Regions from separate parts of the Homo sapiens genome. Here regions 1, 3, 4, 5, 6 and 7 are each linked to region 2. The links are contacts of gene promoters, found by promoter capture Hi-C in blood cells and fetal thymus (Javierre and others, 2016). All regions are on one chromosome and are shown on one strand. Each heading gives the region's core, a stretch centred on a gene start or on the middle of the fragment in contact. The rest is flanking DNA. Distances are from core to core; before and after follow the strand shown.

The links. The method cuts DNA at HindIII sites, captures the fragments that hold promoters and counts their contacts. A CHiCAGO score of 5 or more calls a contact.
Region 1: a contact is called between a fragment that was not itself captured here and the fragment with the promoter of CAVIN1 in region 2, in 2 of 17 cell types (fetal thymus and activated CD4 T cells). The highest score is 5.8, in fetal thymus.
Region 3: a fragment that was not itself captured here is called in contact with the fragment with the promoter of CAVIN1 in region 2 in 1 of 17 cell types (activated CD4 T cells); the score reaches 5.9 in activated CD4 T cells.
Region 4: a fragment that was not itself captured here is called in contact with the fragment with the promoter of CAVIN1 in region 2 in 1 of 17 cell types (activated CD4 T cells); the score reaches 8.0 in activated CD4 T cells.
Region 5: a fragment that was not itself captured here is called in contact with the fragment with the promoter of CAVIN1 in region 2 in 3 of 17 cell types (activated CD4 T cells, fetal thymus and naive B cells); the score reaches 8.3 in activated CD4 T cells.
Region 6: a fragment that was not itself captured here is called in contact with the fragment with the promoter of CAVIN1 in region 2 in 1 of 17 cell types (fetal thymus); the score reaches 5.2 in fetal thymus.
Region 7: a contact is called between a fragment that was not itself captured here and the fragment with the promoter of CAVIN1 in region 2, in 1 of 17 cell types (activated CD4 T cells). The highest score is 5.2, in activated CD4 T cells.

Annotation. Positions count from the first base shown.
Region 1 is chr17:42,013,646-42,017,130 of GRCh38, forward strand. All of the region lies in intron 1 of DNAJC7 (DnaJ heat shock protein family (Hsp40) member C7), which reads right to left. Among named protein-coding and RNA genes, the nearest start is that of DNAJC7, 2.1 kb to the right of the region's middle. RefSeq lists enhancers at 3,003-3,485, 3,313-3,362, 3,433-3,485. The HindIII fragment of the contact is 2,488 bases long and covers 71-2,558 here.
Region 2 is chr17:42,421,300-42,424,815 of GRCh38, forward strand. CAVIN1 (caveolae associated protein 1) reads right to left here and starts at 1,957. Exons shown (of 2, transcript NM_012232.6): 1 at 1,328-1,957. The coding sequence starts at 1,798. It overlaps LOC102725238 (a long non-coding RNA gene), which reads left to right and starts at 1,889. Exons shown (of 4, transcript XR_007065758.1): 1 at 1,889-1,973. The HindIII fragment of the contact is 2,664 bases long and covers 1-2,446 here.
Region 3 is chr17:41,986,089-41,990,009 of GRCh38, forward strand. DNAJC7 (DnaJ heat shock protein family (Hsp40) member C7) reads right to left here. Exons shown (of 14, transcript NM_003315.4): 7 at 3,316-3,469; 8 at 2,644-2,808; 9 at 1,731-1,822. Among named protein-coding and RNA genes, the nearest start is that of CNP, 21 kb to the left of the region's middle. RefSeq lists enhancers at 1,856-2,356, 2,357-2,857. The HindIII fragment of the contact is 461 bases long and covers 1,821-2,281 here.
Region 4 is chr17:42,076,034-42,079,565 of GRCh38, forward strand. All of the region lies in intron 1 of ZNF385C (zinc finger protein 385C), which reads right to left. Among named protein-coding and RNA genes, the nearest start is that of ZNF385C, 21 kb to the right of the region's middle. The HindIII fragment of the contact is 6,157 bases long and covers 1-3,532 here.
Region 5 is chr17:42,032,272-42,036,161 of GRCh38, forward strand. It overlaps ZNF385C (zinc finger protein 385C), which reads right to left. Exons shown (of 9, transcript NM_001392013.1): 4 at 1,954-2,064. Among named protein-coding and RNA genes, the nearest start is that of NKIRAS2, 14 kb to the left of the region's middle. The HindIII fragment of the contact is 5,646 bases long and covers 1-3,890 here.
Region 6 is chr17:41,969,819-41,973,333 of GRCh38, forward strand. It overlaps CNP (2'',3''-cyclic nucleotide 3'' phosphodiesterase), which reads left to right. Exons shown (of 4, transcript NM_033133.5): 3 at 2,074-2,213. Among named protein-coding and RNA genes, the nearest start is that of CNP, 4.8 kb to the left of the region's middle. RefSeq lists an enhancer at 3,355-3,474. The HindIII fragment of the contact is 2,098 bases long and covers 556-2,653 here.
Region 7 is chr17:42,093,609-42,097,418 of GRCh38, forward strand. All of the region lies in intron 1 of ZNF385C (zinc finger protein 385C), which reads right to left. Among named protein-coding and RNA genes, the nearest start is that of ZNF385C, 3.0 kb to the right of the region's middle. The HindIII fragment of the contact is 2,152 bases long and covers 1,207-3,358 here.

The sequences.
Region 1 (3,485 bases), core at 65-2,564, 410 kb before region 2:
ACTGCCCTCTGCTATGGCCACACAAGAGGAATCCAGGACACATGAAAAACATAAAACCACCTCCCTCCAAAGCTTCTAAATCTCCATCCCATTTTCAGCACTGGAAAAATCATACATAAACAAGGCTTTTTCATACTAACAGAGCCTAATGTTTATTCTTTTTTTTGAGACAGAGTTTCACTCTTGTCGCCCAGGTTGGAGTGCAATGGCACGATCTCGGCTCACCGCAACCTCCGCCTACCGGATTCAAGTGATTCTCCTGCCTCAGCCTCCAAGTCGGTGGGGCTACAGGCATGCACCGCCATGCCTGGCTAATTTTTTTTTTCTATTTTTAGTAGAGATGGGGTTTCTCCATGTTGGTCAGGCTGGTCTCAAACTCCCGACCTCAGGTGATCAGCCTGCTTTAGCCTCCCAAAGTGCTGGGATTATAGGCATAAGCCACCGCGCCCGGCCAATGTTTATTCTTCTAAGGATGTCTGATATGGCAAAAAGTTAAACTGATTTTTTTGTTTATTTCACTTATTTTCCTTTTTTTTTTTTGAAATGGAGTCTCACCATGTCGCCCAGGCTGGAGTGCAATGGTGTGACCTTGGCTCACTGCAACCTCCGCCTCCCGGGTTCAAGCGACTCTCCTGCCTCAGACTCCCGAGTAGCTGGGATTACAGGTGCCCACCACTACGCCCAGCTATTTTTTCTATTTTTAGTAGAGATGGGGTTTCACCATGTTGGCCAGGCTGGTCTCAAACTCCTGACCTCGTGATCCGCCCACCTCAGCCTCCCAAAATGATGGGATTACAAGTGTGAGCCACTGCACCCAGCCAATTTTCCTTTTGATTTGTGCAAAAAAGTGGTATATAATAAATAACTATGTTTAAGTCTGTCGAAAACAGTGCTATATATGAGAAACATAAAAGTCTGATAAGAATGCATTTTTTTCTTTTTTTAATTGATTTTTTTTTTTTTGAGACGGAGTTTTGCTCTTGTTGCCCAGGCTGGAGTGCAATGGCATGATCTCCCCTCACCACAACCTCTGCCTCAGCCTCCTGACTAGCTGGGATTACAGCATCACCCCACCTGGCTAATTTTTGTATTTTTAGTAGATGGGGTTTCACCGTATTAGTCAGGCTGGTTTCGAACTCCTGACCTCAGGTAATCCACCCGCCTTGGCCTCCCAAAGTGCTGGGATTACAGGTGTGAGCCACCACGCCCAGTCTTTTTTCTTTTTTTAATTAATTTTTTTCTGTCACTATTTGAACTACAGGAATAATGCATGTTGTCATGTTTAATTTACAGTTACATTTTCTTAGTGACAGATAAAATAATTTGCATTCTGCAATCAATGACTTTTTTTTGAGATGGAATCTCACTTTGTCACCCAGGCTGGAGTGCAATGGCCCGATCTCAGCTCACTGCAACCTCCACCTCCTGAGTTCAAGCGATTCTCCTGCCTCAGCCTCCCGTGTAACTGGGATTACATGTGTGTGCCACCACGCCCCGCTAATTTTTGTATTTTTAGTAGAGACAGGGTTCTGCCATGTTGGCCATGCTGGTTTCAAACTCCCGACCTCAGCTGACCCACCTGCCTCGGCCTCCCAAAGTGCTGGGATTACAGGTGTGAGCTACTGCACCCAGCCTAATGACACTTAAATTCCATGAAATAAGGTAGTTTACCTTATTTTGTTGTACTGCTATCAAATACCATGTTTTGTGTGATGTGGTCACATTACAGCATAACCTATTTTATTATATGTCTTCAGGTTCATTTACTCCAATTTTATGATAGACTATCCTCTAAGGCTGTGATTGAAGAAATGTATTTGCTTAAGATAGGAGGCTATGAAATGAAGTCCAAAATAGGGACACTCTACATCAGAGATTTACAATGAGTAGGGTGAGTTTTTAAAATTACCTATGGCCAGCCCGGCACAGTAGCTCACGCCTGTAATCCCAGCACTTTGGGAGGCCGAGGTGGGCGGATCACGAGGTCAGGAGATCGAGACCATCGTGGCTAACAGGGTGAAACCCCATCTCTACTAAAAATACAAAAAAAAAACAACAATTAGCCGGATGTGGTGGTGGGCACGTGTAGTCCCAGCAACTGGTGAGGCTGAGGCAGGAGAATGGTGTGAACTCAGGAGGCGGAGCTTGCAGTGAGCTGAGGTCGCGCCACTACACTCCAGCCTGGGCGACAGAGCGAGATTCCGTCTCAAAAAATAAAAAATAAATAACCTGTGGCCAAATCCCTATTTACAGTATAAAGAACCACTGAACTCTTTCCAAATACAAGTAAATCTCTACAATTAATTTAAGCTCCGTCTGCACTGGGAGGAATTTTGTTTCCCATTGTGCAGCTCTTTAATGATGTATAAGGGTTGATGATGCTTAGCTTTAAATATCTAGGAAGAAGTAGGAACAACATGAAAGCTCAAAATTAAGAACAGAGACTGGACTCTGGTGTCCTGGCTTCTCTGATATCCCAGGGGCCTATTACACTTTGTCAGGCCCCTCAGCTCCCAGCAGATCAGGAACTTGAGATCTGGCTGTGGTAACCACCCTCAAGCTTGATAACTATTCATTGCGTCCGAGTACTTCTTATATTTCGAACTCATTAGATAGTAAAAATCTCAGAATCCTGATTTCAGATCTCATGAACTAATTCTACATCACCGCCTCAAATTACCCAGCCTGAAGACACAACGGGCTTGGTATGAAGATATAAAGTATGTTGCAAAGAGACTGAGGGCACTGTAGATATCTTGAACAAAAGGGTCAGACTAACCCGCAGCTGATAAGGAAAGGGCTCCAAACTTCTAGAACCTTCTTGTCAATTCTGCTTTAGGATTAGAACAAGTATGACTACCCACAACTCTGTTCCAACCCCACTTCCAATAATCTGGCCTAACTGTTGCCAGAATCTAGAGCGTTCTCGAAAACCACTCACTCAGCAGCTCCCTTGGCTAGTCCGACTGGCAATCTCGAACCACTGCGGCTGCTTCGGAGTGCCAACAGCGCCCAAGCAGTTGCCCTCTTCCTTGGTGCTTAACTTAAGAAAGAACAGTGCTGGGAAGGATAAAGATCACCCAGGAAGGACAGGGGAAGAGGAGTCTGACGTAGAGAACACGAGATAAGCCCCTCGCTCTTCCTTTTTTTCTCTGTCATCTTTGACTTCTGGGATAACCGGGGGCAACCAGGTCAATTATGGAGACACACAATCACTTCGAACCCAGACTAGTGATCGCTGGGGTATAATTACAAGGGAAAACGGGGTGAGGAGAGCAAAGGTTTTGGAGACGGAAAGTGCAGACAGGCAACAATGCACAGAAGTTAACAAGAGAACGCGGGGGTCGGGGGCGATGTAAGGAAGTCGTCATCGACGCCGCGCCGCTTCCCCCACCTCGCACCAGACCTCTGAAATTGCCCTCGGAGACTCGGCCTCTCCTATAAGGACGATCGTCCTCTCAGCTGGAGAACAAGGCCATGCCTCA
Region 2 (3,516 bases), core at 707-3,206:
CCCAGATGGTCACTCAGAACCCGGCTCGACCAGGCCCCAGAGCAGTCAGCAGAGCCACAACTCCCGGAAAGGGGTCTTCTAACTTGGAGGGTGTGGGAAATCCAGCCTTCCCTTTCTTTCCATTCCCTTCAGCAGGGAGAGGAAGGGGAGAGGGGAGCATAGACTAACCCCCCTGCCCCACACGATCCCGCCTCCCTGGGGTTAGGAGCATCAGCAGGCCTTTGGGAGGCGGGGAGGAGCCAGGCTGGAACACTTGCCGCCCAGCCCAAAATCTCATCCCCGATGGCACTGCGGAAGCGGCGTGGAGAGGAGCAGCATAGAAACCCGAGACTCCCAGGTTTATTGGGGGTTATGATCCAAAAGCTACATTTTTATCCAAGTGTGAAGAATGGGGAGAGCTGCAAAGAAAGCAACAAGTGGCCCCGGGCGGAGCCGGGGGGTGGGGGCGCCAGCCTCCTCCCGCCGGCTGCGCTGCTGCGCCTGGCCCCCGCCCCCGCAGGCATGCGGGGTGATTCACCTCGCCCAGACTGCGCCCAGACCGCCGGACCCCGCAGGGGCTGTCCACCCACTCCACCAGCCCCTCTTGCACTCCTGACGCCCACTCTTCCCCGCCCAGCCCCGCCCGCTTCCAGGAGGCCCAGGGTGCCAGCGCGCCGCGGGTGAGGGTGTCCTCAAGGGCCTGAAAATGCCTGGTGGCCAGGAGCAGAGAGCAGCGAGGGGACAGGGGTGGGCCGCCGAGGCCGATGTGGGGGCGCGGGGGCGCAGGGTCTGGGGAGGAGGTTGGCGGTCGCGTTCCCCGCTTGGCACAGCCCCCGCTGGTGCGTGCCTGAGCCCTGAATCACCCGCTATATCAGGCCCGCAGGCGCAGAGGCCCCAGGCCCGGGCCCCGCAGCCAGTGTCCGCTTACAGCGGACCCCAACGATCGCGAGGGACCCCTGACTTTCCTAGAAACTTCCCCCAAGTAGGAAGAAGTTTGACAGAGCCAATTAGGGAGGGAGCGGTCTGCGAGGGGCAGCGTCCTCGAGTCCACCCGCTAATTCGGTTCTGCTACAAGTTTGGGACCCGAGGGAAGGATCTGAGTGGGGAGGTGCGAGGTGCAGAGCGCGCCCCTCTACGCGCCCCAGGAGTCCGCCGCTCCCTCCACCCCATCCTACCCCACCCAACCCCACCCCAGCCGCGCTCACCGGAAGGAGGGTGGATCTGCCGGGCGCCCGGGCCAGGCTGGGAGGGGAGCAGCGCCACGGGCAGGTCTCCCCACCCCAACTCCCAGGCAGGGGACGCGGGCCGGGCGCGGGAGCTCTGGGCGCCTTCCGCCCTGTGGGCTCACCTGGTAGATCATGACTTTAAAGTTGCGGCGCCGCAGCAGCTCGGCCTCGTTGACCTCCAGCTTCTTGATCTGCCCCGCCTGGCGCTCCAGGCTGCCGCGCACGGTCTTCACGTTGACGCTGACCTTGCGCACCTTCTCCAGCAGCTTGCTCACCGTATTGCTCGTGGTGGCGTGCGCCTTGCCCAGCTTGCTCAGCTCGCCCTGGATGCTCTGCACTGCGCCCTCCATCTCCGCCTGCCGCTCCTCCAGCTGTGCTTGAGTCAGCTGGATCTGGTCTACGGCCCCGATGATTTTGTCCAGGAGGCTCAGCACCAGCACGCCGTTCACCTGGTCCGACTTGATCAGCTCTTCTGAGCCGGCCCCCGACGGCTCCTCCGCTGCCTGAGCCCCAGCGGAGGAAGGCTCCGGGGCCTCGGCGTCGGGGTACCCGGGAAGCGGCCGCTCGACAATATAGAGCGTGGGGTCCTCCATGGCTACCCGGAGCCGTGCGGGACCGGCCGGGTGGGGCTGGAGCTGGAGCGGGAGACCCGGAGAGAAGCAGGAGCGGAAGGGAGGAGAGCTAGCGGGCGAGAGCGGAGAGCAGAGGAAACTCGAGCCACGTCCGTGCGCACCGGGACAGCGGCCAGAACTGCTGGGCGGGGGATCGGTGAGCTCCCCAGCTCCCGGGCCAAACTCCGGAGTCTGATCGCTGATTGGCTGGCCCCACCCCAGAAAGGGAGGGACCGGGGCAGAAGGGGAGATCGACGAGGCGGGGCGGCGGAGGGGGACCCAAGAGCCGAGCGCCCCACCCTTCCCGGGATGGTTGGAATAGTTGGAGCGGGAGACTAGGGCCTCCGCTGGCGGCGGGAGCGGGACGGGCGGAGGAATGCGAGCTGAGGAACGGAATCAGGTTCTAAGAGTGTTGCTCTCTGTTTCCCTCTCACTTGAATTGCTCATCCGAAAATCCTCAAGATCTGGGAGCCGGGTGGACCAGGAGATTCTGAAATTATAGGCAAAATCTTGTATTTGCCTTTACCTAGATTTTGAGCACAAAAGGACCCTTGCCCTTTACAATATTTTCTAAGAGGCCTCTCGGATTTCCTCATCACCAACCCCAACCAGGTTACTAACTCAGGGGTAAGCTTAGGGGGTTGTTTGTGGGGGGCGGGGGGAGAAAGAGAGAACGTATTTGGGGTCACGGTGGTGGTGAAGGGCTGCGAAGCTCCTCTAAGTTCTTTTTAGAATTGCCCTAACAGAGTAGAATTAAGATGGGCAATCAAACGGAAAATAAAGCCCACCTCCCAACCCCCCTTTCTGAGACAGGGTGTCACTCTGTCACCCAGGCTGGAGTGCAGCGGTCTGATCACAGTTCACTGCAGCCTCGACCTCTTGGGCTCAGGCAATCCTCCCACTTCAGCCTCCTGAGTAGATGAGACTATAGGCGCTTGCCACCACGCCCAGCTAATTTCAATTTTTATTTTTTTCAATTTTTATTTTTTTAAGAGACGGGGTGTACACTATTTTGACCAGGCTGGTCTCGAACTCCTGAGCTCAAGTGATCTGCTGGTTTCAGCCTCTCAAAGTGCTGGGAGCCACCGCGCCTGGTGTAAAGCCCTTTTTAAAAGCCCACCTCTCTTAGGCCAGGCGCGGTGGCTCATGCCTGTAATCCCAGCACTTTGGGAGGCCCAGGCGGGTGGATCACGAGGTCAGGAGTTCAAGACCAGCCTGGCCCAAGATGGTGAAACCCCGTCTCTGTTACAAATACAAAAATTAGGCCAGGCGCAGTGGCTCATTTTGGGAGGCGGAGGTGGGTGGATCACCTGAGGTCGGGAGTTCGACCTCAGCCTGACCAACATGGAGAAACCCCATCTCTACTAAAAATACAAAATTAGCCAGGCGTGGTGGCGCATGCCTGTAATCCCAGCTATTCGGGAGGCTGAGGCAGGAGAATCACTTGAACCCGGGGGGCAGAGGTTGCAATGAGCTGAGATTCGCGCCATTGCACTCCAGCCTGAGTGGAATTCTACAGAGTAGAATTCCTCTTTTTTCCAAAAGCTTTTTCAATCCTTAGTAGAAGGAATTTAAATTACTTTAATACATTTCTCCTAAATTCTAAAGTAAGTTGGTAATCTGCCAGTTGGTAATCCACTGTCTGAGTGCAGACAGAGTGAGACTCTGTCTCAAAAAAACAAAAAAAACAAAAACAAAAG
Region 3 (3,921 bases), core at 801-3,300, 440 kb before region 2:
CGGTGGCTCACACCTGCTGGTAATTCCAGAACTTTGGGAGGCCAAGACAGGCAGATCACTTGTCATCAGGAGTTTGAGAACAGCCTGGCCAACATGATGAAACCCCATCTCCAATAAAAATACAAAAATTTGCTGGGTGTGGTGACATGCGCCGGTAATCTCAGCTACTTCGGAGGCTGAAGCAGGAAATTCGCTTGAACTCAGGAGGTGGAGGTTGCAGTGAGCCAGTACGGTGCTACTGCACTCCAGCCTGAGCGACATAGCGAGACTCCATCCCGAGCGACATAGCGAGACTCCATCCCAAAAAATAAAACAAAGCGATTTTTCTCTTCTCTTCCCATCCCCTGGCATTCCATATACAGAGCATTCCATTAAGTTCATACAGTATCAAGTATCTAGCCACCCCCTTCCCACTGGACATGTAGGTGATTCTCCCCCCGCCTTTTTTTTTTTTTTTTTTTGCTATTATAGATAAAATTGCAGCAAACACCTTCATGTATATAGCATTTTGCGTCTGTTAAAGTCAGTCTTTGGCTGAATCAAAGGGTGCTTTTTTTGTCTTCCAAAGCTTCTGCTTCTGTGTGCCAGTGGTTTGCAAAGATGGAATGACTGACAGTCAGTCTCACAGAAGTTATAATTCCCTGTATGTTTCTGTTGGACAGACTTAGTCATCAACTTAGAAATTCACTTTTAAAAAAAGCATCACACACAGCAGCAGTTTTCCTATTTTAAGTGAGATAATTTTGAGAAAACTAAGTGGGAGGTAGTCCATGAGATATTCTGTACCACTGATGAGACAAGGAAGCTTAAACTACTGGCTCATCAGGCATCAGTGACAGCATCTGTTCTTTGGATATGACATTTTATAATAAGGAGTGGAGCAGGTGCTGGAGGATTAGTATACAATAAATACATCTTCTCTAAGAACTTTAAAGACGGGAAGTTTTTCTCCGCCTAGAGAATAATCTGAAATCAGAAGAGATGGATTTCTGAGAAAGATTTCTCCTAGCCCTGTTCCTATCTGGAGAAAACCAGCTGGTGGGTCTAAGAGTAAGAGGAGCAACCATGCCAGGGAGCACCCTGACTCTGGGGCAAATGTGAGCATTAGAGGTAGGCACATCCTGGCTCATAATCACCCTGTCAGACACAGAGTGCCCTCCACTCAAAACACTCAAGCAGAGAGTAGCCATCCAGGGTGTTTCAAAAGGAAGTTCCTTTATCCTGGGAGGCTGAGCCGGATTACATCTCTTCCAACTCTAAGATTGTCTTCCCTCGCCCAGAACAAACAGGATGAAGTACAACTCTCAACTGTCTCCAAGAGTTGTTTTCTCTTCCAAGCACCATACATTCATTCAACAAAACATTTATTCAGTGAGCACCTATGTGTCAAGCACTGTGCCAGGGTAGAGCATAAGTGTACAACACAAAATAAAATCTCCAAAGGAAATGGATTTAAACTTTTTAACAAAAGGAATTTGGGTCAGGCATCAGAGGAAACTTACTGACCGTGAGGGGCGTTAGACACAGGCATGGGAGACTGAGGGAGCTTGTGCAATCTCCTCCGCTGGAGGTCTATAAAGATAGTCTAGGGCTGGAACAATCCCACCTAGAGGCAGGGGGAAGGACCAAATGACCTCACAACATCTCTGGGTCTGCTTCGTCATCCACAAGGCAATTCCCCTGAGGCCAGCGGCAACTCCCTCTTCCCCCTACCCATCAGAGGCACTTACCACTGAGCTCTTCTCAAGTAGGCTTTTATGTAAGTGTCATCAAGCTTCACTGCATTTGTGCAGTCTTCTATTGCATCATCTAGTTTCCTAAGCTTCAGGAGAGAGAGAGCAATCATACTTCACACCTTTGGTGACTGAGGGAGCCCAGAAGCTGTGAGCATGGCTTCAAAACTCTAAGAGGATCAGTCATGCTGGCCCCTTAAATGTCATATTAAGTTCTAGTTCTTTGTCACCAGGGCTATGGACAGCAACTTCAAAATTGATTTCTCTTGTATATGATACAAGCCAGGCACATCTGTCTTCAAGGATAAACTACCTTTACCATTCCATGTTAGTGCCCAATGAAAACATGAAAATAGTAAGGCTGGTTCCTGCCCTCCTTTTTTCCAGAGGTCACCTGCAGGGATCAGAAATCACTCTGATTTTTAACTGCTAGAATTCTGCAAGGGCAAGGAGTCTACTTTTTGTTTCTGATGTTGGGTAGGGCCACAAAAGCACTCAGGCCATTTTCAACCATGCATGGTGACCATCAATTACACTGGAGAAAAACAAGCTTGCCTCATACTCTTCCTCCAAATCACTCCTAAAAAATAAATGATCACTTGCATAAGCAAAACAACAAAAAAGCAACAGTAGGTGCTTAAGATTATCCCACAGACCCTAGCCATTCTCTTACTGGAGGAAAGGGACCTTAATGAACAGGTGAGAATATCCTTGCAAATTGTCCAACTGCCCTCAAATTCCATAGAGATGACAAAAGCTTGCCTCTTGGAAGGGAGTTCCTAACAAACTATTAACCATAACAACTTTCCCTCTTTCATCTTGCTTACCCTCACTAGGCAGATTTCCCAAGACCCTTTGATGTCCCTTAAAAATATTTCTATAGGCCCCAAGATCTAGATCAAGAGCTTACCTTGGAATTAACCGTACCCCGATTACAGTAGAGTTTAGCATTTGTTTTTATATTGTTGGGGTCTATCCCCAGGGCTTCTGTGTACAGTTCATATGCTAGTTTGTAATTTCCTTCCTTAAATGCTTTATTCCCATCTTCTTTCTTTGCTTTGAGTGCTTTGGCATTCTACAGAAAAAAGCAAGGGGAGGATCGGTTCATATCCACAAAGCCTCAGACCATTGCACAGAGAGGCCAGACTCTATTTTCAAGTTCTTTGCTTCCAGCAGTTCAGCATCACAGAGCCCCGCCAACCCCCAATCTGGGCTATCTGTTGCTCATTTGAGCTTCCTACAGAGTGGACAGGAAAAGAGTTACCAAAAATACCAATGAGACCTATGTTACTGGGTCTGCCTTCACTTCTCAGGACAAGTATTACTATCTATCTTCACTGAGGGGAAAAACAAAACAAAAAAACCCTCTTAGATATTAAAGGCATCCGACCCTATATGATCACATCTACCTTTAGGTAAATACAAGTAGTCCTGAAACCATTTCTAATAAAGACCAAGCATCCTTGCAAAGCAGGAGGAAAAGCTATCACATTCCTTGTGATTCTAAAACCTTCCACTCTAGCCATCTTAAAGGTCCCAAAAGGAAGCTCTTTCCCAGTTAGGTCTGGTGACTAGAACTTACTCTGCAGGCAATGCAGGCCTTCTCGTGGTCAGGAGCCATCCTGAGAGCCTGTACGAAAAACTGAACTGCCTTCTCAATACAATCTTCGTAATAAAGGCAAAGACCTCGTACATACAGAGCATCTGCATTGGTGGAATCCATTCGTAGAATGTCACTGCAATAGTCAGAAAAGGGCACATTGAGCTGTGCTTTAGAATGTCCCCACCATTACTACCATTTGTGGCCAGTTTTCCTCCTTGACCATGTGTCTAGCATTCAAAATATCCAAAGGTAGACAGATTCCCAAGAACTGTTCCCAAACTTTCCCCAAATAAACCACCTATAATTATCTTTAATACACATCTTGTGTCTTACAATCCTTATTAAACTAGAACAGGGTTTGGCAAACTACAGCCCACAGGGCCAAATCCTTTCTGCCACTGGTTTTTGTAAATAAAACACTATTCAAACAGCCACACCCATTGGTTCATCTATTATCTAGGGCAACCTTTGCACTGCAATGGCAGAGTTGAGTTAGTTGCAACAGAGACCCTGTGGCCTGCAAAGGCTAAAATCTGGCCCTTTGCAGAAAGTGTGCCAACCAGTGGAGTAGAAGGAAAAGGACTA
Region 4 (3,532 bases), core at 35-2,534, 350 kb before region 2:
GCTGGGAGGCCCAGACCGTATGTTTGGGCTTGCTGGCTCTCCCATTCTGCTTAGCCTATTGAAATCATTCAGCAGGACCACAGGTGCCAGCTTAGTGCCACCCACAAAGACGTGGCTTCACCTAGATACCTAGGAATAACACACCCCTAAACTCCAACTCTGCACGCAGGCAAAACACTGCCGTCTATTGTGGGCCTTCTGTGTGCCAGATCCTTCCCATGCCCTTTCCCACTCATTTCATCCCCTACTAACCCTGAAAGTTTGCTACTACTCTCCAGATTTTGAAGATAAAGAGGGGGAGGCTCTGGCCGGGCGCGGTGGCTCACGCCTGTAATCCCAGCACTTTGGGAGGCCGAGGCGGGTGGATCACGAGGTCAGGAGATCGAGACCATCCTGGCTAACACGGTGAAACCCCATCTCTACTAAAAATACAAAAAAATTAGCTGGGCGTGGTGGCGGGTGCCTGTAGTCCCAGCTACTCAGGAGGCTGAGGCAGGAGAATGGTGTGAACCCGGGGGGCGGAGCTGGCAGTGAGCCAAGATCGCGCCACTGCACTCCAGCCTGGGCGATAAAATGAGACTCTGTCTCAAACAAACACACAAAAAAAACAAAGAAGGGGAGGCTCTGAGAAGTTAACTTACCTGCCCAAGGTCACACAGCTAGAAAGGGGCAGAGTGGGGATTTGGACCCCATTGGATGACTCCAAAGCATAGGGTGTCTCTTTCCTTTATACCATGGTGCTTCTAAAGGCCTTATCCCAATATGCCCAGTAACTTTTTTCCTACAAAGGTGGGGTGAAGAGGAAGAACAAATGAAAAAGCTCTTCCTGGTAATGGAGAGCTGGGGGTGTGAGGTGGTGCTAGCCCTTCCTGGTCCACCTTCCACTTGCCCAGTGAGGGATTCAGGCCCCTTAAATATTGCCCTCCCCACTCCAGAAAATGACGCTTAGTCTAAATAAAGCCTCTGAGTCTCCAGTTTGACTATTCCAGCTCTCACTACTGGCCAGTCTTATCCACTGTCTCCTCTTCCTCTGTTTTGTCTGTGGATGACTCTTCAGCCCTAGAACAGTGCCTGACACACAGAAAGTAACAAAGACATATTGCTGGATTTGAGGAATGAACCAACTCTCACTGTAGGTGCAAAGAGAAATGGATCAGGCACCTTGCTCTGACTGTGTGAGTTTAGGCAAGTTACTTCCCCTCTCTGAGCTTCAGTTTCCTTATCTCTAAAACAGGGCAATTAACAGGTAACGGTGTAGAGGATGGTGTGACATCATGCCTGCAAAGTACCCCATATAATATGTGCCCAACTAATAGTAGGGGCATTATTAATTAGGTGTTGCTGGTCCCGGCTTTAGAGAGAGGGACATTGAGGCTCAGAGAGGTGAAGGAACTTATGCAACCCTCAACATTACACAGCTTGGAAGAGGCCCATACCGAACAGCAGCTGATGGGCCTGGATTTAAGGCTGTGCCCTTTTTCTTGCTCCTGGGGCCTTTCCCAAATGTTCAATAAGTAACATTTCTACTACAAAGATAAGAGGTGGTTAAAAGAATTGTTCATAATAATAACACTAAGGGCCCCAGCTGAAGCAAAGCCTGTAACAAAGGGACTCAGGCAAGGAGCAGAGACCCCGGCCCAGCCAGCAGCTTCCCTGCTCGGCCCACAGCCCAGACTGGGGCTAGGACGGGTGGCGTCATTCTGGACTCCTGGGCTCTAGGAGGGTGGGAGAGGCCCCAACAGTGGGTAGGCCTGTCCCACCCCACCCATCATGGGTTCTTTCTGCCCCCACTGAAAGGGCAGACTCTCTAGTGGCTTGAACAAGTCCACTGTGACCCCTCCCCCCACATTTTGCCTCCTAAAATAGCCCAGAGCCACCATGTGCCCAGGGCGGCTCCCCACTGGTTGCAAATCCCCCTGAAATCAAATCCCCATCCTGCCCCAAGGAGGACGGCACCACCTCCTGCCACTGCTGGGCTCCAGCGCCAGCCAGGCTCCCCCAGTGGAAACCGGGACAGTTGTCCTTCACAGTGACCGGGACATAAATCCCCAAATAATGAGACAGGCACTGGGAACACAGAACCAGACACAGTGCTAATTGGTTTGCTTCTGGGCAGAGATGATGTGGAGACAACAGTAACAGGCCTCAGTTTCCCTGGCGGTGTATTGGGGTGGGGGGATGCAAGGGCCAGGGATCCCTGGCTGGGCTGATTTTCTACGCCTTCTGACTGGCCTCACAACCTACTAACCAGTCGCACTTTTTAGGATATTAAATTCCCAGATGTAAAAGGAAAGGGCTGGGGTCTCCTGGTCCAGGTCCTGAGGTAGGAAGCCTAGAATCTCTACCATGATCCAGAAACACCTTCTTTCCATTAAGAAAAAAAAAAAAATTCAACCAACACTCAGATCCTTCCCAGTATGCATGGGGGACTGGGGGAGCAGGGAGGCGGGGAACCCAGTGCAACCTCCCTGCTCCTCATGTGAGGTTGGTAATGGATTCTTGGACAAGCCCAAGGACCTCAGTTTGCAGTAATCAGGATGAGATTATCACATTAAACTTTCAAAGTCTTTGCTCAAAAAGAAGCAGCAGCAGCTGACACCCTTGACTCCCCCGACTTTCCCACTGTCACCTTCTCCTGGACCATGACCAGATGAGCTCCAGATACAGGCCACGTGGAGGCTCCACTGCACTGGGGCAGAGGCAGGGGCATGGACAGGATGATCTCCCTGGGGGTGGCCTCAGGGTTGTGGTAAGATGGAAGGGGGAGGAGGTGGGGGAGAGAGGTGAGCATGTGTGTCTGCGGGTGTAATTTGGAGGGACTGCGGGGAACTGGAGTAACTTGAAGTCAGGCAAATGTGTTTACGTTGCAACTTCGCCACTAATCGTGTGACTGGGAACTTGTCCCTTCTCTTCACATCTTAGTTTCCTGTCTGTAAAATGGAGATAATGGTAACAACAATGCCTAATAATAACTCCTCTGACTCAAGGCTGATGTCTGAGAAGATTAAATAAGATAACAGAATATACTAGCCCGGCACGGTGGCTCATGCCTGTAATCTCGGCACCTTGGAAGGATGGAAGGACCAGGTGGGTGGATTGCTTGAGCCCAGGAGTTTGAGACCAGCCTGAGAAACATGACAAAACCCTGTCTCGCAAAAAAAAAAAAAAAAATATATATATATATACATATATATATATATACACACATATATGAACAAAAATTAGCTGGGCATGCTGGTGCACACCTGTAATCCCAACTACTGGGGAGACTGAGACGGGAGATTGAGGCTGCAGTGAGCCATGATCATGCCACTGCACTCCAGCCTGGGTGACAGTGAGACTCTGTCTCAAAAAAAAAAAAAAAAAAAATACTGACCAGGCACAGTGGCTCACGCCTGTAATCCCAGCACTTTGGGAGGCTGAGGCAGGAGGATCACTTGAGGCCAGGAGTTTGAGACTCTATCTTTACAAAAAAAAAAAAAATTAGTTGACCATGGTGGTGCATGTCTGTAGTCCCAGCTGCTCAGGAGGC
Region 5 (3,890 bases), core at 717-3,216, 390 kb before region 2:
GGATGGTCTCGATCTCCTGCCTCGTGATCCACCCGCCTCAGCCTCCCAAAGTGCTGGGATTACAGGCGTGAGCCACCACGCCTGGCCACTAACTACATCTTTAGGCAAGTAACATCTCTCTGAGCCTGAGTCTCCTCACCCATAAACCCTGTGATGATAATACTGACCTCATGGGGTTGTCAGAATTACATGGGAACATGAATTACAAGGGCCGAGTACATAGAGTAGGTGCTCAATGAATGTTAGTTATCAAGTGTATCAATGCACAAATGGAGAAAGCAGAGCAATCCCCACACTTTGGGGTGTATGTACCCCAGAACATTCATCCCTTTGTTCATTTGTTCAACAAGTCATTACTGAGCATTTGCTATTTGCCAGGCACTGTGCCCGGGGTCCGGCAGGAAGAAGAATGGTTCCTCCCTCAGAACGAATTCTCTCCTCCATCTTTTTTTTTTTTTGAGACGGAATCTCGCTTTGTCACCCAGGCTGGAGTGCAACGGGAGCAATCTAGGCTCACTGTAACCTCTGCCTCCTGGGTTCAAGCGATTCTCCTGCCTCAGCCTCCCGAGTAGCTGGGATTACAGGCACCTGTCACCACAACTGGCTGCTTTTTTTTTTTTCTTCTGTATTTTAGTAGAGATGGGGTTTCACCATGTTGGCCAGGCTGGTCTCTAACTCCTGACCTCAAGTGATCCACCCACCTTGGCCTCCCAAAGTGCTGGGATTACAGGCATGAGCCACCACGCCCAGCCTCTCCTCCATCTCTTGCAGGACTCATGGAACCAGAAGGCCTGAAGGGAATCCTCAAATCTGGTCTGTCAGTGTCCTCCCTCCAAGGGTCCTCACTTGCTGCTCCCCGGCCCACCTCCTTGAAACATGGGAAAGACAGGCCCCCATGGCCCCTCCCTGGATGCTATACCACAGCAGTTCTGCTGGCATCCAACCGAAACCCCAGATTGCCTAACAGGAGGTAGACCTTCCCTGGGAGGCCAGAATGAGGTTCCTCCTCTACCTAGTGGTAAGATGTAGTAGAAAGGGGTAGGCTGTAGTAGAAAGTCATAGACCTTGGGGTCAGCCAGGCCTGGATTCATATCCCAGCTTTGCTACTTACCAGCTGTGTGGTCTTAGGCAAGTCACTTAACCTCTCTAAGGCTCACTTTCCTCATCTGAAAATCGGGGATTATAATAGCGCCTCTAGGCCAGGCGCGGTGGCTCACACCTGTAATCCCAGCATGTTGGGAGGTTGAGGTGGGTGGATCACTTGAGCCCAGGAGTTCGAGACCAGCTTGGGCAACATGGTGAAACCCTGTATCTGCCAAAAATATAAAAAAATTAGCCAGGCGTGGTAGCACATGCCTGTAATCCCAGCTACTAGGGAAGCTGAGGCACAAGAATCACTTGAACCCTGGAGGTGGAGGCTGCAGTGAGCCAAGATTGCGCCACTGCACTCCCGCCTGGGTGACAGAGTGAGACCTTGTCTAAAAAAACAAAACAAAACAAAAAAATCCCGCCTCCACCCGTCTCACAGATGTATCATGAAAACTATTATTTAAGGGGATGGGCATGATCACATTCTGTAAACTCTCAGGTGCCTTAAGAGCTCAGCTCCAGACCAGGAGCTGATGAGATGGGCCACTGGGACCTGGAGTGGAGGAAGGGCAGTCTTCTCTCTTGCAGAAGGATCCAGAACACAGGAGAGAGGCCTGGGGGGAAGGAAATGGAATCCCACTGGGCTACAGCTGGGCAGAAGGGGAAGGGGCAGAAGAATCTAGAGAGAGGAGAGGATGCGATGGTTAAAGGACCAAGAGTGCCTCTTCTGCAGCCAGGGTGGAAAATACCGACCACAGCCCCTTTGCCACTGATATTCCTCCCAGAAGGACTCTGAAAGCCCAGCCTCCAGCCCTCTCCCTGCCCAGCCCCCTCCCCAGACCTGCTTTCACTACTTTGTCTCACCGCTGAGTTGAACCTCAGGTGACAGATGTTACAGGAAATGAACAGCTTCTTCTTCAGAGGGGAGGGGACACCAAACGTGTGGCTGATGACAGCTTTCTGGACCGGGTCCATCTGTGAAGGGAGTGGGAGGGCATAATAACTCTGGGGTTGGCTTGGGAAGCAGGGGTCGGGGGCAGCACAAAATGCCCAAAACTAAAGATGACTGAAGAGGGCCTTGGTCAGCTTCTAGGAAGAACTTTTCCATCCTGTGGATGTTGGAAAGAGAAACAGCTGGGCCAGGCGCGGTGGCTCACACCTGTAATCCCAGCACTTTGGGAGGCCGAGGCAGGCAGATCACCTCAGGTTGGGAGTTCAAGACCAGCCTGACCAACATGGAGAAACCCCATCTCTACTAAAAAAAAAATACAAAATTAGCCAGGTGTGATGGCGCATGCCTGTAATCTCAGCTACTCGGGAGGCTGAGGCAGGAGAATTGCTTGAACCAGGGAGATGGAGGTTGCGGTGAACCGAGAGCAGGCCATTACACTCCAGCCTGGGCAACAAGAGCGAAACTTCGTCTCAAAAAAAAAAAAAAGAAAAGAAAAAGAAAAAGAAAAGGAAAGAAAGAAGAAGAAACAGCTGCCTGGGTGCAGTGGCTCACGCCTGTAATCCCATCACTTTGGGAGGCCAAGATGGGTGAATCACCTGAGGTCAGGAGTTCAAGACCAGCCTGGCCAAGAGAAACTCCTTCTCTACTAAAAATACAAAAATTAGCCAGGTGTGGTGGCACGTGCCTGTAGTCTCAGCTACTCAGGAGGCTGAGGCAGGAGGCTTGAACCTCAGAGGCAGAGGTTGCAGTGAGCTGAGATTGCGCCACTGCACTCCAGCCTGGGCAACAGAGTGAGACTCTGTCTCAAAAAAAAAAAAAAAAAAAAAGAGAAGAGAAAAGAAAAGAAAGGAAAAGAAAAGAAAAGAAAAATACACAGCCTCTCCCGGCTGTCTTTATTTGTCAGCCTAGGCTTCTGCTTGGAAGCAGGGGAATGGCCAGAGTGCCCTGCATGTTTCTGGGACATAGAACCATGTCCTGGTGATCACCTTGGCATCTCTTGGTGCCCCTTAGGTCATTATTTTTGTTTTTTGTTTTTCTCCTTTGCAATAATTACAACTATTGGGACAGAGAGTTGGAAACAAGGAGAGGCAGGGAAGAGACAAAGAACTCGTCTGTTGGAATTTCCTCTCCCATCACCCAGGCTTCATGCAGGGACCTGTGGGCTGGGGGAAGATAAGTCCTATCTCATCAGCTCTATCACTGTCACAGGGCCTGAGGCTGCTGACGACCTTTTTTTTTTTTTTTTTTTTTTTTTATAAGATGGAATACTGCTCTGTCGCCCAGGCTGGAGTGCAGTGGCATGATCTCAGCTCACTGCAACTTCCACCTCTCAGGTTCAAGTGATTCTGCTGCCTCAGCCTCCCGAGTAGCTGGGATTACAGGCGCCCACCACTACGTCTGGCTAATTTTTGTTATTTTTAGTAGAGACAGGGTTTCACCATGTTGGCCAGGCTGGTCTCGAACTCCTGCCCTCAAAATGATCCGCCTGCCTTGGCCTCCCAATGTGCTGGAATTACAGGTGTGAGCCACCGTGCCCAGCCATGACGACCTCTCTTGAGAGAGTGAGAGCCACAGCCAGGGGAGGTGGGGGGCCAGTAGGGGGCAGGGAGCAGCAAGTGGAGGCCTAAGGTTCCCCAAGGAGTAGGATCGTTTCTTTGGAATATTAATTTGGATTTTTTTTCTTTTCCTTATTATTTTTTTGAGATGGAGTCTCCCTCTTGTCGCCCAGGCTGGAGTGCAATGGCGGAGCCAAAATCTTGCAACCTCCGCTTCCTGGGCTCAAGCGATTCTCCTGCCTCAGCCTCCCAAGTAGCTGGGACTACAGGTGCCCACTACCATGCTCGGCTAA
Region 6 (3,515 bases), core at 355-2,854, 450 kb before region 2:
GTGCTGGGATTACAGGCGTGAGCCACCACCGCACCCAGCCACCCCCAATTTTAGATGATCTTCATGCCTGAAATAGCCCCACTCTGGTTTGTTGACATTGTGTATATTGCACAGAAGCAGGGAATTTGTGCCTGTATGGGTTCTCAGAGAGCTTTTTTCTCAGCTCCTAAACTTGAACTCTGCAGTGAACTGTGGTGCTTGCAGTGACATTGGCCAGGAGCAAGCCCTGTACCTGTGAGCTGGTGGCTCTGCCCTGGAGTGACTACTGCTCAAAGTTGCTTTTAATATTTATTTATGAGACGGAGTCTTGCTCTGTTGCCCAGGCTGGAGTGCAGTGGCATGATCTCGGCTCACTGCAACCTCCGCCTCCTGGGTTCAAGCCAATTCTCTGCCTCAGCTTCCCAAGTAGCTGGGAATACAGGCGCCTGCCACCATGCCCGGCTAATTTTTTTTTATTTTTGTATTTTTAGTAGAGACAGGGTTTCACCATCTTGACCAGGCTGGTCGGTAGCACAAAAGAAAGGAGGGGCCCTTGGCCCAAGATGGGACGAATCAAGCTTGACAGGATGATTGCCAGATCTTTTTTTTTTTTTTTTTTGAGACGGGGGTCTTGCTCTGTCGCCCAGGCTGGAGTGCAGTGGGGCAATTCGGCTTACTGCAACCTCCATCTCCCGGGTTCAAGCAATTCTCCTGCCTCAGCCACCCAAGTAGCTGGGATTACAGGCACCCGCCACCATACCTGGCTAATTTATAAATTTTTAGTAGAGACAGGGTTTCACCATGTTGGCCAGGCTGGTCTCAAACGCCCCGCCTCAATTTCCCAAATTGCCGGGATTACAGGTGCGAGCCACTATGCCCAGCCTATTTTATTTGTAAAGGAAAACTGGATTTTTCTGCCCAGGATTAGAGCAGGAGAAATGTAATGGGCCAGCAAGGCTGCTCTCAGGAGAGGCCTTCCTCCCCTGTGGAGGGCGAGACATCCTCATGGGGACTCAATTCAGAACATAACAGGAAAAAGCGAGTGACTCCAAAGACAGCCACAGGTGTGGAGTCTGGAAATCAAAATCACAGATACTCCACTCCTCTTTGTGTCTTCCAGCCCCATAATGTCACCCCATTATAGTCCAAGACCCTTCCTGTACCAGGAGGCCCCCCCATAGGCCTGCAAGGTGTGTATTAAACTGATGGTGACGTTGTGACTGCTTGTCCAGATGGGCCCCTGAGTGAAATGGGGCACTACTGATAGTTCCCTGGTGGTCCTGGGAACACTGGGGTATATGGTCACCCTAACTGTTGTGCTGGATTGATAGATAGGGTTGGTCACTTGCCCGAGGCCGATGGCTGGTACATGGCAGAGCTGAGATATTCACTGTGTTCTGGCTGTTTCCACCGTACCATGTTGTTCCCAGCCCTCTGTTTTCTTTCCACCCCACTTCCCATGACTTGCTTCCCCTTTGAGACGTGGTGCTAGTAAATCTTAGATTCCCTTGGCCTGTACTGCCTGCCTCTGTTACAAATGCCTTAGAGTTTGGAGAAGAGATGGAAAGATCTATACAATGTAAAGCCAGAGAATTTTAACTTTTTTTTTTTTTTTTTTGGAGACGGAGTCTTGCTCTGTTGCCTAGGCTGGAGTGCAGTGGCACTATCTCGGCTCGCTGTATCCTCTGCCTCCTGGGTTCAAGCAATTCTCTACCTCAGCCTCCCAAGTAGCTGGGATTACAGGCGCCCGCCACCACGCCTGGCTAATTTCTTTGTATTTTTAGTAGAGACGGGGTTTCACCATCTTGGCCAGGCTGGTCTTGAATTCCTGACCTTGTGATCCACCCACCTCGGCCTCCCAGAGTGCTGGGATTACAGGTGTGAACCACCGCACCTGGCCTGAGAATTTTAACTTTTTATTGCTCTAAAGTTGCCATTAGTTTGACCAACTAACCAATGAATGAGCTGTAGTGGGTTGCTGGAGAGGTGATGCTTAGTGTCCGAGTGTTTTGCGCTGGGCCTCGGTGGTCCTGGTGGCGGATGTTGGTATGCCCCTGCTCCCCTGCCCTGACTGCACCCGTTTTCTCCCGGCAGTCGTCCCTGGGGATGAGCCCAGGGAGAAGATGGACTTGGTCACCTACTTTGGAAAGAGACCCCCAGGCGTGCTGCATTGCACAACCAAGTTTTGTGACTACGGGAAGGCTCCCGGGGCAGAGGAGTACGCTCAACAAGATGTGAGTCTTCCCCAGGGACACATGGGGGAGGTGGGAGGTTGGGGGAGAAGGGGCTGCAGCATCTTCTGAAGATAGGTACCGGTGCCAGGCAGGGACCAAAAACCAGATGGCAGCTCAAGAAAAATGGCATCTCCTCCTCCTAGCTCCCCTGTCCCCAGGCGTAGCTGCATAGACCTCAGCCGCAGGTTCTAAGGAGCCTGCCCTGGCAGTACTGCCAGCCTGTGCATTCACCTGCCCCCAAGCACCTTCGCCTTCTGCAGATTCATGGAGAATGCTGGTCCACAGTGGGCTCCTGCTCTGGTCTCTCTGAGCCTGTTTTACCTTCCAAAGACTAGGAGTCCTTCGCCCCCAGGGAGCCTGGTGCACTGAGGTCCCCATCCCTGTCCCCAGGTCTGAGGTCTGGCCTGGCCCCAGAGTGAGGGAGTTTCATACGATAATGAAGCTTATTGGCTAATGGGTACGAGACCTTTCTGCACCACACAGCTGGCACCTTACACCCACAGCCACTGACAGTGATCCCTGAATGCCAGGCATGTCACCCATATCCACAGTCTCCAACTTCCAAGTGTCCACCCCCAAGCCCACTCTCCCACTTCTCTGCCTAGGTTAGCACAATCGTTTGTTTGTTCACTAGAGTGTCCTCCCAAATGGAAGCTCCCCTGAGGGCGAGTTTTTAAGTTTCGTTGACTCCTGTGGTTCCAGCACCCTAGCATAGTGGAATGAATATGTAACACCTGAGCTACCATCCCTAACCATGCCTTCATTTAGCATTTATTAACTACCCATTTCATGCCAGACACTGTTGGGACAAGGGATCGTGAGCAAAAATAGAAAAGCGTTTATGCTGAGATGGGATGGGCTGTCTCAAAGAATCAGATAGAAGCAGACATATCATCAGATGGGAACCAAAGTGTAAGAGCAGGTTTCCATCAAGGGCGAGTCTGACCTCAGTCTGACCTCACCCTGTCCTCCAGGGCGCTGTCTGGGTCCCAGGGGAAGCTGAGCGGTGCCAACAGTAGCAGCTGTTGTGTGCGCGGACACCCCTGTGGGCTGTTTACCTAGTCACTCTCATAACCACATTAACTCTGAGGTAGGCTCTGGTTCTCCCTGTTTTACGGGTGATGAAGCCAAGGCACCGAGAGGTCAGCCAGCCCGCTGAGGCCGGAAGCCAGTGTGCAGGGAGCTGGGCTCCCTCAGGAAGTCCGGCTGTCCCCGTGTGGCCCTGTCTGAGCGCCTTCGTGTTTCTCACTTGAGCCTGGAGCGCCTATGGAAGGTGCGTGCCGCAGTTGTTAGTGGATGCTG
Region 7 (3,810 bases), core at 1,033-3,532, 330 kb before region 2:
CTCACTCTGTCGTCCAGGCTGGAGTGCAGTGGCACGATGTTGGCTCACTGCAACCTGTACCTCCCAGGCTCAGGCAAATCTCCTGCTTCAGTCTCCCGAGTACCTGGGATTAAAGGTACCCATCACCAAGCCCGGCTAATTTTTTGTACTTTTTTAGCAGAGACGAGGTTTCACCATGTTGGCCAGGCTGATCTCTAACTCCTTGACCTCAAGCAATCCACCCACCTTGGCCTCCCAAAGTGCTGGGATTACAGGTGTGAGCCACTGCACTCGGCCCATCCACTCTCCCTAGGACGTGATATTCCCTTTCCTGCCGCCTTGCCTGGCAGTGGAGGAGCCCAGAAGTGATCGTGGCCCCCTGGGAGGCATTATCACCTTTTTTTTTTTTTTTTGAGATGGAGTTTCACATTTGTTGCCCAGGCTGGAGTGCAATGGCGCAATCTTGGCTTTCTGCAACCTCTGCCTCCCAGGTACAAACGATTCTCCCACCTCAATCTCCCAAGTAGCTGAGATTACAGGCATGCGCCACCGCGCCCAGCTAATTTTGTATTTTTAGTAGAGACGGGGGTTCACCATGTTGGCCAGGCTGGTTTCGAACTTCTGACCTCAGGTGATCCACCCGCCTCAGCCTCCCAAAGTGCTAGTATTACAGGCGTGAGCCACCGTGCCTGGCTGTCACCTTCTTTCAGGACTCTTGGCTCTCCTTTTGCCGAGACTCCTCAAGAGACTAAGGCAGAGAGTCAGAGGGATACATGTCCAGACTGACAGGCAGATATAGAGAGAGGTGAAGATACAGAAAGACCCACCCAGAGAGATAGCCACGCAGTCAGACACTGAGAGTGGGAGTGTGAGAGAGAGGGACAGAGAGAGAAGGGGTAGACAGAGGAGGCAGAGAAAAAGGAAGAAGAAAAGACATAGAAAGACTCACAGAAAAAAGAGCTAGACGGGTGGAGAGGAGAGACAGAGATAACAAAGGACAGGGTCAGGAGAGGGGAAAGGACACAGATGGGGAGCACACAGGAGGCGCAGGGCCAGACACACTCACAGGCCGAAGCAGAAAGAGGCTCACGAGAACTACACAAGGACAGACAGCCTCAGGACCCAGAGACACTCTCCTGGGAGACGTGGGGGGAGCCAAAGTGCTTGGGGGTCGAGCCCCACTGGGGGTGGCCTCACCAGGGCAATGCTGCTGCCTCCTGTCCCAAAAGCTTAACCAACCGCTGCCGGCATCTGGCCCCCAGCCACCCTCTAGTAAGCCAGCCCTTGGCCACTGGAGCCAGTGGGTCACCCAAGGTGAATGAAAAGTCACCAATAAGGGACAGTGAGAGTGTGACTGGGGTGAAGGTATGGGTGTCACAAGCCATGTGTGTCAGGGTGGGTCTGACCTGGGGTGGGGTTTAGGAGCGCACAACCCTATACACAGACCTCTGGGGGTTAGTGCAGGCGGGCATGCGTACCTGAGTGAGTTTGTGAGTGTCTGTACACGTGTGTGGATCCAGTTCCATTAAGAGCCTCACGATGCTAATGAGGCCAACGTGGCAGGCTGTTCCTCAAATAGCCCAATCAGAAACAATGAGTGAGCAGAGACAGCCACAATAAAGGTTTCATGCCTCTTCTGAACAGACGGTGTGTCCAGGTGCCACAGGGCACTTGACTACAGTCAACACCAGCGTACCATTCATTCCCGCTGGGGATGACCCCCGCCGCCTGGCCAGCTGACCCCACAGTCTCCCCTGTCCCAAGCCCAAACTCCAAACTCATGGGAGAACCCACATGATAGACACATGGGCCCTCCCGGGTGGCAGGCGCAGCTCCCTCTGAGAAGGGCAGCCAGAGGGATGGTGGGGTCCAACCCTGGCTTTCCCCCAGGCTAGCTTCCATCCCTCCTGCTGCTGCGGCCCCATTTAGCTCTCTCCTTGCTCCTGGGGTCCAGTGACCCACACCCTCACCACACACAGGAGAGAAGTAACCTCTCCTCCCCAGCCCTTCCCTCTCAAGCATCACAGGACATTAAAAAAAAAATTGTCCCAGTTTTGTGGTGGATAATGAGGTCAGGAGGCCCACAGGGGAACTGCTTGTTGATGACAACTGACAATCTTCATTTCACCTTGAAACTCCGTCCTGGTCCAGGTAAGCATGTTCTAAGCCCAGTTTTATAGGGGTGCTACTCTACTGGGGGACAGGGAGAGTGGGGAAGGAATTAACCAAATGGCAGCTGAAGTCACAGGCCCAGCCAGGCCCACCTGGAACACTCACAGGGCCTGGGGCAAGGGGACAAATGGCGGCCCACAGACATATGTCTAAATATTTAAAAGTTATAAATCAAGCCAGCAAACTGTGAAATATGTTCTAACCTCTCACCCTGACAAATACACCTTCATTAACAACCTGGAGGACCAGATACAAATTTGGATTTATCTGCCTCCTGAGCTTTACACATCAGAATGACTCTGTGCAGAGGAGACAGCTCCACTCGCACCCTGGCCACCCCCCTTCCTGCTGCCGGGTCCTGTCTGCACCACAAGGGACTCTTGTGCATGTATAAGGACACCCAGCCTCATGTCCTTGCTCCATCCACAGCCCCTGCAAATAGCTGTCCCTTCACTGTCCGTAGGGGTGCACACACTATTGGCATAACCTGTCCTGAGGCAGACAGGCCCAGGGAAGAGGCTGGCATGGGCTGGGAGCCAGATGGTGACCATCTAGGCAGGGACCTCCAGAGTCACAGGTATGGAGAATGTGGTCTTGGAGGGGACTCACAGTCTCATCCCCTCGGCCCTGCTGATGCCTCATCCCACAGGGAGAGGACTGGCAGCAGGAGGGCCAGAGTGGAGCCTTTGAAAGCCCCCAGCTTAGGGCATGGGCACTCCCTCCCTTGCCCAGGTTTAAGGGTGCTACTGAACTCAGCCTTCCCTGGCAGCCTAGAGATCAGGCCAGGGCCTGAAGCTGTCCTTTCACTGGAGGACAGCTTGGACAATCCCCAAACAGGACTTTCAGTCACTCGTATTATTTATCTTCCTGGAAAAATTTAGTGCGGCTTGATCCCAACTCCTGGAGGTGGGAGGGCAGAGCAGTGATGACAAGAGGGCATTTTTTTCAGGTTGGGTCTCCAAGCCAGAGCTTGTTCCACTGAGGCACAGCCCAAGTGAGCTCCTGCTGGTACTGGTCCCTGCCTTGGGCGGGGGCGGGGGGACTCTCTCCCCTCTACAGAGACAAAAGGCAACACAAACAAGGTGACTAAAAGAGGAGGAGGTGAGGGGCCCTGGGCAGCCCAGAGAGGTCCAGAGATCCAGGAACCAGCAGGGGGCAGGTTCCCCCTGGTAGGGGGGCATGCAGTGAAGGGCACTCTTTCTAGCCAAGCTTAGCTAAAAAAAAAAAAAAAAAAACCCTTCCACTCCCCCCTCCCCTGCTCGCTCTCACTCCCTGCAGATCGGCTTTGCTGTCCCACACATGAGGGGACACTGGTACTTTCTGAGCCCTCGCCAGGCTCCAGGCACTGTGCTAAGCGCTCTACATGTGTACCCTCATTTAACCCTTGCAGCCACTCTATGAGGTGGGTTCTATTATTATCCCCATTTTACAGGTGATTAAGTGAACTCAAAGAGGTTAAGAAACTTGTTCAAGGTCACGCAGTAGGTAGAGGTGTCAGAACTCAGCTCTAACTGACCCCAAAGCCCCCACTCTTTCCACTAGAGCACATGGCCTCCCAGAAGCAAGAAGCTGGCACAGACCCAGAAGGGATGAAGGTCGGATATGAGAACGAACTTCTGCCTCTGATGGTTTGTGTGGTGAAATGAGGCAATGGAATGG